Regions from separate parts of the Homo sapiens genome. Here all the other regions are linked to region 4. Evidence: promoter capture Hi-C in 16 types of primary human blood cells and fetal thymus (Javierre and others, 2016). All regions are on one chromosome and are shown on one strand. The core of a region is centred on a gene start or on the middle of the fragment in contact, and the rest is flanking DNA. Distances in the headings are between cores, read along the strand shown. Region 1 overlaps RNF31 (ring finger protein 31). Region 2 overlaps CARMIL3 (capping protein regulator and myosin 1 linker 3). Region 3 overlaps NRL (neural retina leucine zipper). Region 4 holds the start of DHRS1 (dehydrogenase/reductase 1).

What was found. Contacts are between HindIII fragments. The CHiCAGO score rates a contact against its expected background, and 5 or more counts as called.
Region 1: a fragment that was not itself captured here is called in contact with the fragment with the promoter of DHRS1 in region 4 in 8 of 17 cell types (naive CD8 T cells, activated CD4 T cells, naive B cells and 5 more); the score reaches 8.1 in naive CD8 T cells.
Region 2: a fragment that was not itself captured here is called in contact with the fragment with the promoter of DHRS1 in region 4 in 2 of 17 cell types (activated CD4 T cells and naive B cells); the score reaches 6.8 in activated CD4 T cells.
Region 3: a fragment that was not itself captured here is called in contact with the fragment with the promoter of DHRS1 in region 4 in 9 of 17 cell types (naive B cells, naive CD8 T cells, activated CD4 T cells and 6 more); the score reaches 9.3 in naive B cells.

Annotation. Positions count from the first base shown.
Region 1 is chr14:24,153,737-24,157,346 of GRCh38, forward strand. It overlaps RNF31 (ring finger protein 31), which reads left to right. Exons shown (of 21, transcript NM_017999.5): 12 at 1,421-1,594; 13 at 1,678-1,776; 14 at 1,867-1,956; 15 at 3,554-3,610. Among named protein-coding and RNA genes, the nearest start is that of IRF9, 5.7 kb to the right of the region's middle. The HindIII fragment of the contact is 7,637 bases long and covers 1-3,610 here.
Region 2 is chr14:24,059,627-24,063,042 of GRCh38, forward strand. CARMIL3 (capping protein regulator and myosin 1 linker 3) reads left to right here. Exons shown (of 40, transcript NM_138360.4): 22 at 38-106; 23 at 344-437; 24 at 531-629; 25 at 1,002-1,130; 26 at 1,301-1,414; 27 at 1,871-2,046; 28 at 2,854-2,941; 29 at 3,083-3,220. Among named protein-coding and RNA genes, the nearest start is that of CARMIL3, 9.3 kb to the left of the region's middle. The HindIII fragment of the contact is 4,487 bases long and covers 1-3,416 here.
Region 3 is chr14:24,109,596-24,112,957 of GRCh38, forward strand. All of the region lies in intron 1 of NRL (neural retina leucine zipper), which reads right to left. Among named protein-coding and RNA genes, the nearest start is that of DCAF11, 3.5 kb to the right of the region's middle. The HindIII fragment of the contact is 2,327 bases long and covers 285-2,611 here.
Region 4 is chr14:24,297,671-24,301,029 of GRCh38, forward strand. DHRS1 (dehydrogenase/reductase 1) reads right to left here and starts at 2,110. Exons shown (of 9, transcript NM_001136050.3): 1 at 1,911-2,110; 2 at 1,287-1,460. The coding sequence starts at 1,436. NOP9 (NOP9 nucleolar protein) reads left to right here and starts at 2,180. Exons shown (of 10, transcript NM_174913.3): 1 at 2,180-2,531; 2 at 2,738-3,187. The coding sequence starts at 2,285. RefSeq lists an enhancer at 664-1,454. The HindIII fragment of the contact is 3,784 bases long and covers 1-2,251 here.

The DNA.
Region 1 (3,610 bases), core at 1,111-3,610, 140 kb before region 4:
CTACAAAAAATACAAAAATTAGCCGGGTGTGGTAGTGGGTGCCTGTAATCCCAGCTACTTGGGAGGCTGAGGCAGGAAAATCTCTTGAACCTGGGAGACAGAGGTTGCAGTGAGCCAGGATTGCGCCACAGCACTCCAGTCTGAGCGACAGAGTGAGACTCTGTCTCAAAATAAATTAAATAAATAAATAAATGTAGAATCTACAGGAAGTTTCAAAAATAGTGCATAGAGTCCTGTGTACTTTTCACTAACCTTCACTCAGCGATGACATTTTTTTGAGACGGAGTCTCGCTCTGTCGCCCTGGCTGGAGCGCAGTCGCGCAATCATGGCTCACTGCAACCTCTGCCTCCCGGTTCAAGCGATTCTCCTGTCCCAGCCTCCCAAGTAGCTGTGATTACAGGCATCTGCAATCATGCCCGGCTAATTTTTTTTTTTTTGAGACAGAGTTTTGCTCTTGTTGCCCAGCCTGGAGTGCAATGGTGCGATCTCGGCTCACTGCAGCCTCCGCCTCCCGAGTTCAAGTGATTCTCCTGCCTCAGCCTCCCGAGTAGCTGGGATTACAGGCATGCGCCACCACACTTGGCTAATTTTGTATTTTTAGTAGAGACGGGTCAGGCTGGTCTGGAACTCCAGATCTCAGGTGATCCGCCTGCCTCAGCCTCCCAAAGTGCTGGGATTACAGGCATAAGCCATGGTGCCTGGCCTAATTTTTGTATTTTTAGTAGAGACAAGGTTTCACAATGTTGGCCAGGCTGGTCTCGAACTCCTAGCCTCAAGTGATGCGCCCGCCTTGGCTTCCCAAAGTACTGGGATTACAGGTGTGAGCCAGCGTGCCCGGCCCCCAGTGGTGACTTCTTATATAGTTATAGTACAATATCAAGACCAAGAAATAAGACATTGCTCCAATGTTAGCTATACTACAGGTCTTGTTCATTTTTCTCATGGATATGCCGCTGTGTGTATGTGTGGTTCTATGCAGTTCTGTCCCACGTATGGATGCATATAACCACCACCATAATCAAGATACAGATTGTTTCATCACCACAAAGGAACTCTCTCATGTACCTCTTTAGTTATACCCTTCTGCCCCCACTTCTAGTCACCTGGCAACCATGAAGCTGTTCTCCACCTCTATAGTTTTGTCATTTCAAGCATGTTATTTGTATATTTAATGGAATATGAATGTTTTTATAGGCACTTTTGCCTTTACCTTAGGTGTCACCATTGTCTATTTTCCTCCACCCGACTGTCTTCAGATGTTTACGTTGCCTGCCTGGCCCCTGCTGGCACTTGAGGTTGTTAACCCTGCCCAGTTGTTAATTAGACCCTGATTTCTTAGTGGACACCTGGCCACTGCCTCTTCCCTAGCCTGGCAGCTGTGGCTTCTGACCCCCTCCCCTCCAACCCCTCACCCTCCAGATGCAGGCCCTGACTTCCTGTGAGTGCACCATCTGTCCTGACTGCTTCCGCCAGCACTTCACCATCGCCTTGAAGGAGAAGCACATCACAGACATGGTGTGCCCTGCCTGTGGCCGCCCCGACCTCACCGATGACACACAGTTGCTCAGCTACTTCTCTACCCTTGACATCCAGGTACTGCAGCCCCTCTAGGACTCAGGTACCCTGAGCTTTGAACAGGGACCCTCCCACCCACCACCTCTGCATCCTGTCCCCAGCTTCGCGAGAGCCTAGAGCCAGATGCCTATGCGTTGTTCCATAAGAAGCTGACCGAGGGTGTGCTGATGCGGGACCCCAAGTTCTTGTGGTGTGCCCAGGTAAGTGGCCTGCCCAGGGCAGCTACTGTGGAGGGGCAGGGGATGGTTCCAGGTCAGGCCTTTGATAACTTTATGCTCTTGCACTTCCAGTGCTCCTTTGGCTTCATATATGAGCGTGAGCAGCTGGAGGCAACTTGTCCCCAGTGTCACCAGACCTTCTGTGTGCGCTGCAAGCGCCAGGTGAGGCACATTCATCCTTTCAGAAATACTTGCTGAGCTACTGCCAGGTACTGTGTTAGACTCAGGGGAGTTTGTGTACTGGAGAGCAAAACAGACATGAGCTCTGAGGTCAAAAGAGCTTACAGACTACTCAGAAAGACTAGGCACAAGGAGAAAGGGAAGCAGAGGGAGGGAGGAAATCGGGAGGGAAAGGAAAGGGGAGGAGGAAGGAAGGAAGGAAAGAAAGTAAGCCAGAGGAACTAATTATACATAGGCATAAATTCTATGAAGAAAACAAACAGGAACCTGAGATCAGGGTAACAGAGTGGACCTACTTAGGGTAGAGAGGTCAGACAAGTCTTCTCTAAAATGGTTTAAGCTCAGGCCTAAACATTAAAAAGAAGCCAGCCATGCAAAGAGCATTTGGGAGAGAAAGAACAACACATGGAAAGGCCAGAATCAGAAAAAAGTGTTGTATGGCTGGAGCCTGGAAAGCAAGGCGGGAATGGCAGGTGGTCAGAGAGAAGCCAGCTGCCAGGTCTGTAGAGCCCTGGAGGCCACGTGAAGCAGGCGTCCGTCTGCCTTCATTCTGAGATAAAGCAAGGGTGATACTATCTCATTTATCTTTCGTTTATTTATTTATTTATTTATTTTTAGAGACAACTCACTGTCACCCAGGCTGGGGTCCACTGGTGCAGTCACAGCTCACTGCAGCCTCCAACTCCTGGTCTCAAGTGATCCCTCGCCTCAGCCTTCCAAAGTACTGGGATTACAGGCATGAGCCACTATGCCCAGCCACATTTATCTTTTAAGAAGTGTAATATTTGGCTAGGCATGGTGGCTTCCGCCTGTAATCCCAGCACTTTGGGAGGCCATGGTGGGTGGATCACTTGAGGTTGGGAGTTCAAGACCAGCCTCCCAATATGGTGAAACCCCGTCTCTACTAAAAATACAAAAATTAGCCGGGTGTGGTGGCATGTGCCTGTAATCCCAACTACTCTGGAGGCTGAGGCAGGAGAATCGCTTGAACCCAGGAGGTGGAGGCTGCAGTGAGCCAAGATCACGCCATTGCACTCCAGCCTGGGTGACAGAGCGAGACTCCATCTCAAAAAAAAAAAAAGAAGTGTAATATTTGATACGAAAAAAATTTCATCTGCATCATGTCTGAAATAAAGTGAACACCTGAGACTACCACAGAACCAAAACACCACCAATCCTGTGGAAGCTACCTGACTTACAGTTTTGAAGGACTTTTGACAGCCATGGGGAGAATTGACCCTAGGGGAGCAGGAATGGGAAACAGAGAGACTAGTAACCGAGGCAAGCAATTGAGGCAAGGTCTGATGGTGGCCTGGAGTAAAGTGGTAGCAGTAGGGATGAAGGAAAAGGGGATATGGTTGAGATGGTCTGTGGGGTGGAAACAAGGCAAAAGTAGTGTGAGGTGGTAGGAGAAAATGAAAGGACCAAGGATGGCCTCTCATTTTGAGATCTGAGCAAATGGTAGGTGGCAGTGACATAAACCAAGCTGGGGAACCACTGGATGTGAGTGGAGGGGCCAGCAAGAAAGGCCAGGGGATGGGATAGAGCTCCCATGTGAAGCCTACTTTCCCTCTGGCAGTGGGAGGAGCAGCACCGAGGTCGGAGCTGTGAGGACTTCCAGAACTGGAAACGCATG
Region 2 (3,416 bases), core at 674-3,173, 240 kb before region 4:
AGGAGAGGTGCCAAACTGGTGCTTACCCTCCCCCCAGAACTATCCTATGGGATCGGAACAATACATCTGCCCTGGGCTTCCTGGACATCGCAAGGGCCCTGGAGAGGTGAGTAGACCATGGTCCTGCCCTGATCCAAGTCCCCAGCCTCCCTGTGCCTGGATCAGGCCTGAACTACTCTTGCCCCACCCTAGCCCCTTTGACCTATTTGCACAGAAATTTTAGGAAGGGCCATGGAAGACAGAAATGATGAGCAAGGGGGCTGGAGGGCTGCTCACCAACAGAGGAGGCAGGGGCCTCCCATCCTCACCTGTTCCCACCCAGCTGTGCCCCTGTGTCCCACAGCAACCACACGCTGCGCTTCATGTCCTTCCCCGTGAGCGACATCTCCCAAGCCTATCGCAGCGCGCCTGAGCGCACCGAGGACGTCTGGCAGAAGGTGCAGGGTGCTGTCCTAAGCAGGGTGGCACAGCAAGGGGCAGGGGGCAGCCCCCATCCCCAGGCCCTGACCCACCAACCCCATCATCTCCAGATCCAATGGTGCTTAGTGAGGAACAACCACTCCCAGACGTGCCCCCAGGAGCAGGCCTTCAGGTTGCAGCAGGGCCTGGTGACCAGCAGCGCCGAGCAAGTAAACGTTTCCCTCTGGGACACGGGGCATACCCGGGGCATGCAGGGCACAGTGTGATGTGATGGAAAATTGAGTGGGGGAGCATGAAGAGGCACTGCATGGTGCCTATCACTGGACTGAGCATGTGGGGAAGCAAAAAGAGAGGACATGCAGGATATGGGCTTCAAACATATGTGGGCGAACAGCAGGAGTGCACAGGACTCTGGGAGCTCAGCTGGGCATTCAAGAAGGCTGTAGCAATGGGGACCAGGCCAGCCAGAGACATCACCTCCACCACTGTCGGTGCCAGCACCAGTAGCACTGTCTAAGGGGTCCTACCTGCGAAGATGTGGAAGCAGGGGTCCCCTTGACACCCCTGCCACTGTGCTCCAGATGCTGCAGCGGCTGTGTGGACGAGTGCAGGAGGAGGTGCGGGCCCTGAGACTATGCCCCCTGGAGCCTGTGCAGGATGAGCTACTCTACGCTCGGGACCTCATCAAAGATGCCAAGAACTCCCGGGCGGTGAGCCCTCCACAGGCTACCCTTCCCCTGAAGTCTGGAGAACCCAAGAAGGCCGACCATGCTAAGCCATGACAGCCCTGCCCTGTGCATCTGCCTTCCTAGCCCAGGGACCCCAGAGACCTAGCAAGTCCTGGTTCTGGCCTGCTAATCATAACCCCTTCCTTCTCCAGCTGTTTCCCAGCCTCTATGAGCTGGGCCACGTGCTGGCCAATGATGGGCCTGTGCGGCAGAGGCTGGAATCAGTAGCAAGTGAGGTGTCCAAAGCTGTGGACAAGGAGCTGCAGGCAAGTCCTGGAGGAGGGAGGAATCCATGGTGGGAACCTAGTGTTGACTGAGGCCCTAAGCCCAGAGCTAAAGTCAGAGCTGGGAGACTTCTGGAGGGCCAGGAGGACATGCAGAGTTGAGACCACCCACGCTCCCACTGTACCAAGGCATTGCTGCAATATCAGGCTTGGATTTTTTTCTGCTAGCTTTGATGTTGGTCCCTGAACTCTGACCTCCCTGCTCTGGATTTGGATCCTTGGACTGACTGCCCCTGTCTGTATGGTAGGGTGGAAGGAGCACTGACCAGAAAGTGGGGAAGCCTTAGTGTCCAAGGCTCTGCCACTAACAGTTTTGTGACTTAGGCAGGTCCCTCAGTCTCAGCAGGAGGGGCTGGAATAGATAAAGTCTCTTCTGCTGTGGTGCCAGCCCTGATCCTGTCCCCCTTGGGCCTCTGGCCTCCCTTTCCCCCATACTAGGTGATCCTGGAGTCCATGGTCAGCCTGACACAGGAGTTATGCCCTGTGGCCATGCGGGTGGCCGAGGGACACAACAAGATGCTGAGCAATGTGGCGGAGCGTGTCACTGTGCCCCGGAACTTCATCCGAGGGGCACTGCTGGAGCAAGCAGGACAGGACATTCAGAACAAGCTGGAGTGAGAGGCAAAGGGCAGGGCTGGGGCTGAGCTGGATTTGGCCCAGATCACTTAGGGACTTAGGACTGGAGAGCTATCAGCAATGAATAATGAATGGCACAATCTCCATTACAAGGATCAATCTTTAACCAAGTGCAACCTTGCTATTTAGGGTCTGGCTGGTCTTTGCCCTAGAAATCTAAGTGCTGAGCTGGGGTTTAGGAGCCAAGTTTGTGCCCACACAGGTGTACACACACATACCCACACAAATACACCAGGAATGGGATAGCAGGGCCTCCTCGGAGGCATGGACAAAGAAAAGTACCTGAGTTGGGTGCATGGAAGCACTGTCTTCCTCCCAGTTTTCATTGCCCCTAGAGTTCTTTCATTCTGGGTCTGGGTGCCACCACTCACCAAACCAAAGGAAAACTAGTACACATACCTATGAAACAGCTAGGCCCAAGGAAGGGTCTTTCCTACCCTCACAGTAGCAACTAGCAGGGTTTAGTTACTCAGCACCCCAATTACCTAGCTCTGTTCCACTGGGGCTCCAGGGGCCTGACCTAGGGCCCCCTTGCTCCTTCTCCTCGAATTCCTCTTTCCCCACACATAGTTGGGCTGGGGGCTCTGGGGTGGGACTAGACGTGTATTTGTGGAGAAATGAGTGTCAAGGGCTAGGCTGCCTCCTTCAGCAGCCACATGCGCTCCATGGGCAGACAGACCAGGCCAGCTGGCCGTTCTCTCAGGCTTCTGGGAGAGGGAGTGCCTCAGGGGCCATGCGGGGGACTGAGGTGCTAATGTTCTGAGTAGCCCCACCTGTGCCCACAGTGAAGTGAAGCTCTCAGTCGTCACCTACCTAACCAGCTCCATAGTGGATGAGATCCTGCAAGAGCTCTACCATTCCCACAAGAGCCTGGTAAGGCTTCTTCTGCAGCCTGGCCTGGCTCGGGCACGCCCTCCACCCCACATTATCCTGTCTCCCTAATCACCCTCCCCTTCAAGGCCCTGGGAGGTGGGCAGCTTCCATGGAATTCTGTTCACACCTGCCCTTCCCCAGGCCCGGCACCTGACCCAGCTAAGGACGCTGTCAGATCCACCAGGGTGCCCAGGCCAAGGGCAGGATCTGTCCTCCCGGGGCCGAGGCCGGAACCATGACCATGAGGAGACCACAGATGATGAACTTGGGACCAACATTGTGAGCCCCCCGCTCCCTGCTCCTCCTTAATAACCTGGGCCCTGCCCTTAAACCTGCACAACACTGTCCCCTTCCACTGATCTGTACTCCCCTGGCCACCTCACTGTGCCTGGCCTTCTGCCTCCAATCTCAATCCAGCCCAACCTCTTCCCTCATCCCAGTGCCTCAGCCCCCTGAGGAGCGAGGGGCAGGATGG
Region 3 (3,362 bases), core at 198-2,697, 190 kb before region 4:
GCTGAGGCAGGAGAATAGCATGAACCCGGGAGGCGGAGCTTGCAGTGAGCCGAGATCGGTCCACTGCACTCCAGCCTGGGTGACAGAGCAAGACTCCATCTCAAAAAAAAAAAAAAAAAATCTTTTATACGCAAAAAAATTAATCAATGAATCCAGTGATTAATCTTATATTCTTTCCCATGTGATGTGAAGGACTCAATTTTGTCATAAAACCTCAGTTATTTTAACATTTACCATGACTTTTAAATGTTTTACTCAATAATGTACAAGTTCCATATTACAAAAGCTTGAATTAAAAGATTTTATTCAGGTTTAAACTAATTTGTAAGAAGAAGAGAAAAGAGAATCAAAAAATGAATTGTTAAGGAGATAAGTTTAACAGAAGTTTTTTGTTCGTTTTTCTGGACCTCAGGTGCTATAGCTGTATTCATCATAATCCTTTGTAGAAGCTACACCTTTGTCACCAGTTCATGCAAGCCCTCCCCACTTTGTTTAATGATGTAATGAGCTGGGTATTATTATACTTTTTTTTTTTTTCTTTGAGACGGGGTCTCATTCTCGCCCAGGCTGGATGAAGTGCAGTGGCGCAATCATGGCTCACTGCAGCCTTGACCAGACTCAGGTGATCCTTCCACCTCAGCATCCTGGGTAGCCAAGACTACAGGCCCAGCTCAATTTTGTTTTTGTATTTTTCGTAGAGATGGGGTTTCGTCACATTGCCCAGGCTGATCTCAAATTCCTGTGGTCAAGCGAGCTGCCCGCCTCAGCCTCTCAAAGTACTGGGATTACAGGTGTGAGCTACCACGCCTATTATACTTTCTAATGAAAAAATGAAACCACATCGTTTTTGCATCTATTACATGTCACCAGAAGAAATGATTATCTTTATTTTTTTAACTTGACAATGTAGTTTGCACAATTTCCTATGGTATAAAAATAGAAGGCTACAACAAACCTATACCAGGAATAGGTACCTTAAAAAAAAATTGAAGACTACAACACCATTTTAATAGCTACCTGGTATTTCTGTGTCTATACTACATGGACCATAATTTATTTAACAATCCCATATTGCAAGATATTTAGATCTTTGTTTCCAGTGTTCCACTTTTATCAATAATTGCTATGTAGAACATAAATTTTTATGCATGTCCGGCCTAGATTTCTGGAAGCAGTATTACTGGGTCAAAGTGCAAGGCTGTGAGGAAGGGAGTTTTGTAGACAGCTTCCCTCTAATAAGAAATTCTCCTGGGAAGGTGCAGAGGTAAAAATAAACAAGCTATTTATTGGCATATTTGCTTAGCAGAAATATCAAAAAATGAGGTTACTAAAAATAGACATCCAGGTTTGGAAGTTTGTATTTGAAACAATGAACAATAGTGAGCCATTTGTTGATTTTCTTTTAGAGACAGTCTTTAGCTCTATCCCCAGGCTGGAGTACAGTGGAGCAATCATGGCTCACTGCAGCCTCCACCTCATAGGCTCAAGATTCCCTCCTTCATCCTTCCCAAGTAAGTTGGGACCATAGGCACGCGCCACGATGGCCGGCTATTTTTTTTTTCTTTTTGTAGACTGGGTCTCACTATGTTGCCCAGGCTGGCCTTGAACTCCTGGCCACAAATGATCCTCCTCCTCGGCCTCCCACAGTGCTGGAATTACAGTCGTAAGCCACCGTGCCCAGCTCACTTGTGCGTTAAGCACTAAATGCTGTTAGAGGAGGATTCTTCAGCAGATCAACTACCGGAAGAGGCATAGGTGTTTTTTGTTTGGTTGGTTGATTGTTTTTTGTGTGTGTGTGACGGAGTTTCGCTTTTGTAGCCCAGGCTGGAGTGCAGTGGCGTGATCTCGGCTCAATGCAACCTCCACCTCCCGGGTTCAAGCGATTCTCTTGCCTCAGCCTCTCGAGTGGCTGGGATTACAAGCGCATGCCACCACACTCGGCTTTTTTTTTTTTAGTGACGGGGTTTCACCATGTTGGCCAGGCTGGTCTCGAACTCCTGACCTCAGGTGATCCACCCGCCTTGGCCTCCCAAAGTGCTGGGATTACAGGCGTGAGCCACCGCGCCCGGCCAATTTTTTTAAAAAATGATTCCGTCCTGAGACTTTGCTGAAGTTGCTTATCAGCTTAAGGAGATTTTGGGCTGAGACGATGGGGTTTTCTAGATAAACAATCATGTCGTCTGCAAACAGGGACAATTTGACTTCCTCTTTTCCTAATTGAATACCCTTTATTTCCTTCTCCTGCCTGATTGCCCTGGCCAGAACTTCCAACACTATGTTGAATAGGAGCGGTGAGAGAGGGCATCCCTGTCTTGTGCCAGTTTTCAAAGGGAATGCTTCCAGTTTTTGCCCATTCAGTATGATATTGGCTGTGGGTTTGTCATAGATAGCTCTTATTATTTTGAAATACGTCCCATCAATACCTAATTTATTGAGAGTTTTTAGCATGAAGGGTTGTTGAATTTTGTCAAAGGCTTTTTCTGCATCTATTGAGATAATCATGTGGTTTTTGTCTTTGGCTCTGTTTATATGCTGGATTACATTTATTGATTTGCGTATATTGAACCAGCCTTGCATCCCAGGGATGAAGCCCACTTGATCATGGTCGATAAGCTTTTTGATGTGCTGCTGGATTCGGTTTGCCAGTATTTTATTGAGGATTTTTGCATCAATGTTCATCAAGGATATTGGTCTAAAATTCTCTTTTTTGGTTGTGTCTCTGCCCGGCTTTGGTATCAGAATGATGCTGGCCTCATAAAATGAGTTAGGGAGGATGACAAATGGGATCTAATTAAACTAAAGAGCTTCTGCACAGCAAAAGAAACTACCATCAGAGTGAACAGGCAACCTACAACATGGGAGAAAATTTTCGCAACCTACTCATCTGACAAAGGGCTAATATCCAGAATCTACAATGAACTCAAACAAATTTACAAGAAAAAAACAAACAACCCCATCAAAAAGTGGGCGAAGGACATGAACAGACACTTCTCAAAAGCAGACATTTATGCAGCCAAAAAACACATGAAGAAATGCTCATCATCACTGGCCATCAGAGAAATGCAAATCAAAACCACTATGAGATATCATCTCACACCAGTTAGAATGGCAATCATTAAAAAGTCAGGAAACAACAGGTGCTGGAGAGGATGTGGAGAAATAGGAACACTTTTACACTGTTGGTGGGACTGTAAACTAGTTCAACCATTGTGGAAGTCAGTGTGGCGATTCCTCAGGGATCTAGAACTAGAAATACCATTTGACCCAGCCATCCCATTACTGGGTATATACCCAAAGGACTATAAATCATGCTGCTATAAAGACACATGCACACGTATGTTTATTGCGGCACTATTCACAAT
Region 4 (3,359 bases), core at 860-3,359:
GTTCTCTATTAGGGTCTTCCAAGACCCACTCTTTCCTCTCCAGCCTCTCACTCACTACTCTTCCCTTGCATTATCTCACACATCTACTCTTTCACACAGCGTCCCTATGCTTATGGAGCTCCCTCTGCTGGAATGCTTTTCCTAACTTCCTTTACCTAATTCTTACCTTTCAAAACTCAGTTCAAGAACCACCTACCTCCTCCAGGACGCTTTCCCAAACCACTTTCCCTAGCCACTCTCCTATGTCATCTGGATGCTCCCCAACACCCCTAGAGTATTCTGTGCATATCTCCCTCTTATAATTTACCATATTCACATTACATTGAAGTGACTGCTTTCTGTACCTGACTTCCTGTTGGAATCTATCTTCATTTTTAATTAAAATTTTTTTTTTTAGAGACAGGGTCTCACTGTCACCAGGCTGGAGTGCAGTGGTGCAATCATAGCTCACTGCAACCTCGAACTCCTGGGCTCAAACGATCCTCCTGCCTCAGCCTCCCAAGTAGATGGTACTACAGGTGCAGGCCACTGTGCCTAGCTAATTATTTAAAAAATATTTTTTGTAGAGACTGGGTCTAGCTATGTTGCCCAGACTGGTCTCCAACTGCTGGCCTCAAGTGATCTTGCTGCCTTGGCCACCCAAAGTGCTGGGACTACAGGCATGAGCCACTGTACTCCACCATGGACTGAATCTTTGAAGAGCAGAAATTAGATTTTATTAGTCTTGGTAACTTCAGTGGTTTACCAATGCCTAGCAAATCATGGATACTCAAATATTTATTTAACTGAAGTCTAGTAAATAAGTAAAAAATGTGCAGTTCAATAAAGTCTTGCCTGAAATAGAGGAAAGCACAGGTCCACAACCCTTTAGTTGCAATTCCAAAATCTCTGCTCTCAAACAAAAAGTTTTTTACTTTTCTTTCTTTTCTTTTTTTTAATACAGTGTCTCGCTGTGTCGTCTAGACTGGAGTGCAGTGGTGTGATCATGGCTCAACTCCTAGGCTCAAGCGATCCTCCTGCCTCAGCCTCCGGAGTAGCTGCTGGGACTGCAGGAACGTGCCACCATGCCTGGCTCAAACACAAAGTTTTTTCATAAAACTCACTTGGCGGCAAAATTCTACCTTACCTGAAGTTATTTACGGGGTTTTTAATTTCCACTTTGAATAAATATTCACATCTTGTTGAGTAGTATTATAGTTTCAGGTAAGGGATTAGGAAAGGAGCTGTTAAGTGGAAGGGCTCTCTCGGGTGGTTTCTGCAACTGTGGTCCCAGAGGAAGCACTCACCTCCTGAGCAACAACGCGAAGGGTGTCCAGATGGCGGCCAGTGATGTAAACTGTGGCGCCTGCTTTGCAGAGCTGCAAGGCAATGCCACGGCCAATACCCCTGGAGGCACCAGTCACCACACACACTTGGCCATTCATGGGAGCTGCCATGACTCACAGGCAAAGGAGGCAGGTCTGTGGAAGCAAAGACTTACTCTGAGGGAAGCCTGGAGACTGTGTGTGTGTTGGGGCGAGGTTGGGGGGTAGGGGAGAACCTCACTAGGGCTAAGAGGAGGAGCCAAGGTAAGAATCCTTTGAGGGGAGAGGAGTCAGAGGCTGACAACTGGGTGCGGGCCTGAGGACAAGGCTGACTGTCTTTTGGGAGGCCCAGAGAGTGAAGAAGGGGCTGAGTGGGACTGTCCAGAGGTGGACAACTACTACAACCCTCTGAGTGTGGCTGCCTGGATATGGGAATCTGGCGCGGCAGCCCCTCGGGGCGCGTCCACGCAGAGTCCTGGGCTATCTGAAGCTCCGGTCCCTGGCCTGACCCAGTCCGGCTGAGCCAGAGGCGCAGCTTCCGGGCCGGGGATGAGCGCGAAGCCTGGAGATCCTAAGCCCTAAGTGGGACGAGCGTGCGCCGCTTACCTGCCACCTGCGCTGCCGCTGAGGTCTGCAGATTGCGGGGCTGCGGTGGAAGTCTGGGTTCTCGCCCAGATTGAGCCGGCGACGTGGAGGCAGTGTTCAAGGATTGATTCTGTAGTAGGACCCGGGGCGATTCTGTGCTGAGGTAGAGGGGCAGAGTCCCAGGCCAAAGTTAGAACCTGCGGATGGGGGCGGAGCGATCTGGGTGACACACCCACCCCGCCCGGCTGGGGCGGCGCGGAACTATGACGTAGTAGCTGCGTCAGGAGCGCGCCCGCGTTTCTAAACTTTGTCTGGATAAGGCGCACGCTTGGCGACGTCGAAGGTCCGTCCGCAGTTAAGGAAGCTTTTGCAGCCGGACAGGTCGCGAAGCACACATGGGGCAGGGTCCGCGCTCTCCACACAAGGTGGGGCGCCGGTTCCCAGCTGGTGGCAAACGGGGGCGCGGGGCCAAGGGGTCGGGGCGCCCCTTACCAGGCCGTAAGCGGCAACCCTGGCCGCCTCCGGATGGGCGCTCGGAGCCGGCTCCAGATTCGCACCCGCACCTGAGCCCGGAAGCTCTGGGATATTTCCGCCGGGCGCTGTCAGCATTGAAAGAGGCTCCCGAGACTGGGGAAGAACGAGGTAGGCAGCAACTTCGGGGTTTAGACCAAGAGCATCAAATCCAGGGCAGGCAAGGAAACTTTCTAGGGTCGGCAGGGCGTGGGGACTTAGTTTCATTTCCCATGTCCTCTTCCTCGGCCTCCGACCCACGACCCTTGGTTAAGCGAGGGTACATAACTGTATTCTCTACTAAGTCTCTTCAAAGTGTGTCTTTCTTCCCTTTTCAGATCTGATGGTGCACAATATAATGAAGGAAGTAGAGACTCAGGCCCTAGCTTTGTCCACGAACAGGACTGGCAGTGAGATGCTGCAGGAACTGTTGGGATTCAGTCCCTTGAAACCGCTTTGTCGCGTGTGGGCTGCTCTGCGCTCTAACTTGCGCACTGTGGCCTGTCACCGATGCGGGGTCCATGTATTACAAAGTGCTTTGCTACAGCTCCCTCGATTGCTGGGGAGTGCTGCAGAGGAGGAGGAGGAGGAGGAGGAGGATGGAAAGGATGGTCCCACGGAGACCCTGGAGGAGCTGGTCCTGGGACTAGCCGCTGAGGTGTGTGATGATTTTCTTGTCTACTGTGGAGACACACATGGCAGCTTCGTGGTCAGAACTCTGCTTCAGGTGTTAGGAGGGACTATTCTGGAGTCTGAGAGAGCCAGGCCCCGTGGTTCCCAATCATCTGGTAAGTATTACAAGAGGAAAGTGGACCTAGGGGGAAGAAGAATTTAGAAAGTTCAGAATGAGACAGTAAACAGAAGAGTAAGTCTTCATGGGGGAGCTTGACCGGGAAGAATTAGCTTGACCTGTCCTAATCTGAACAGGGCTTAGCAAGCCAAAGATTAGTGTGTGCGGAG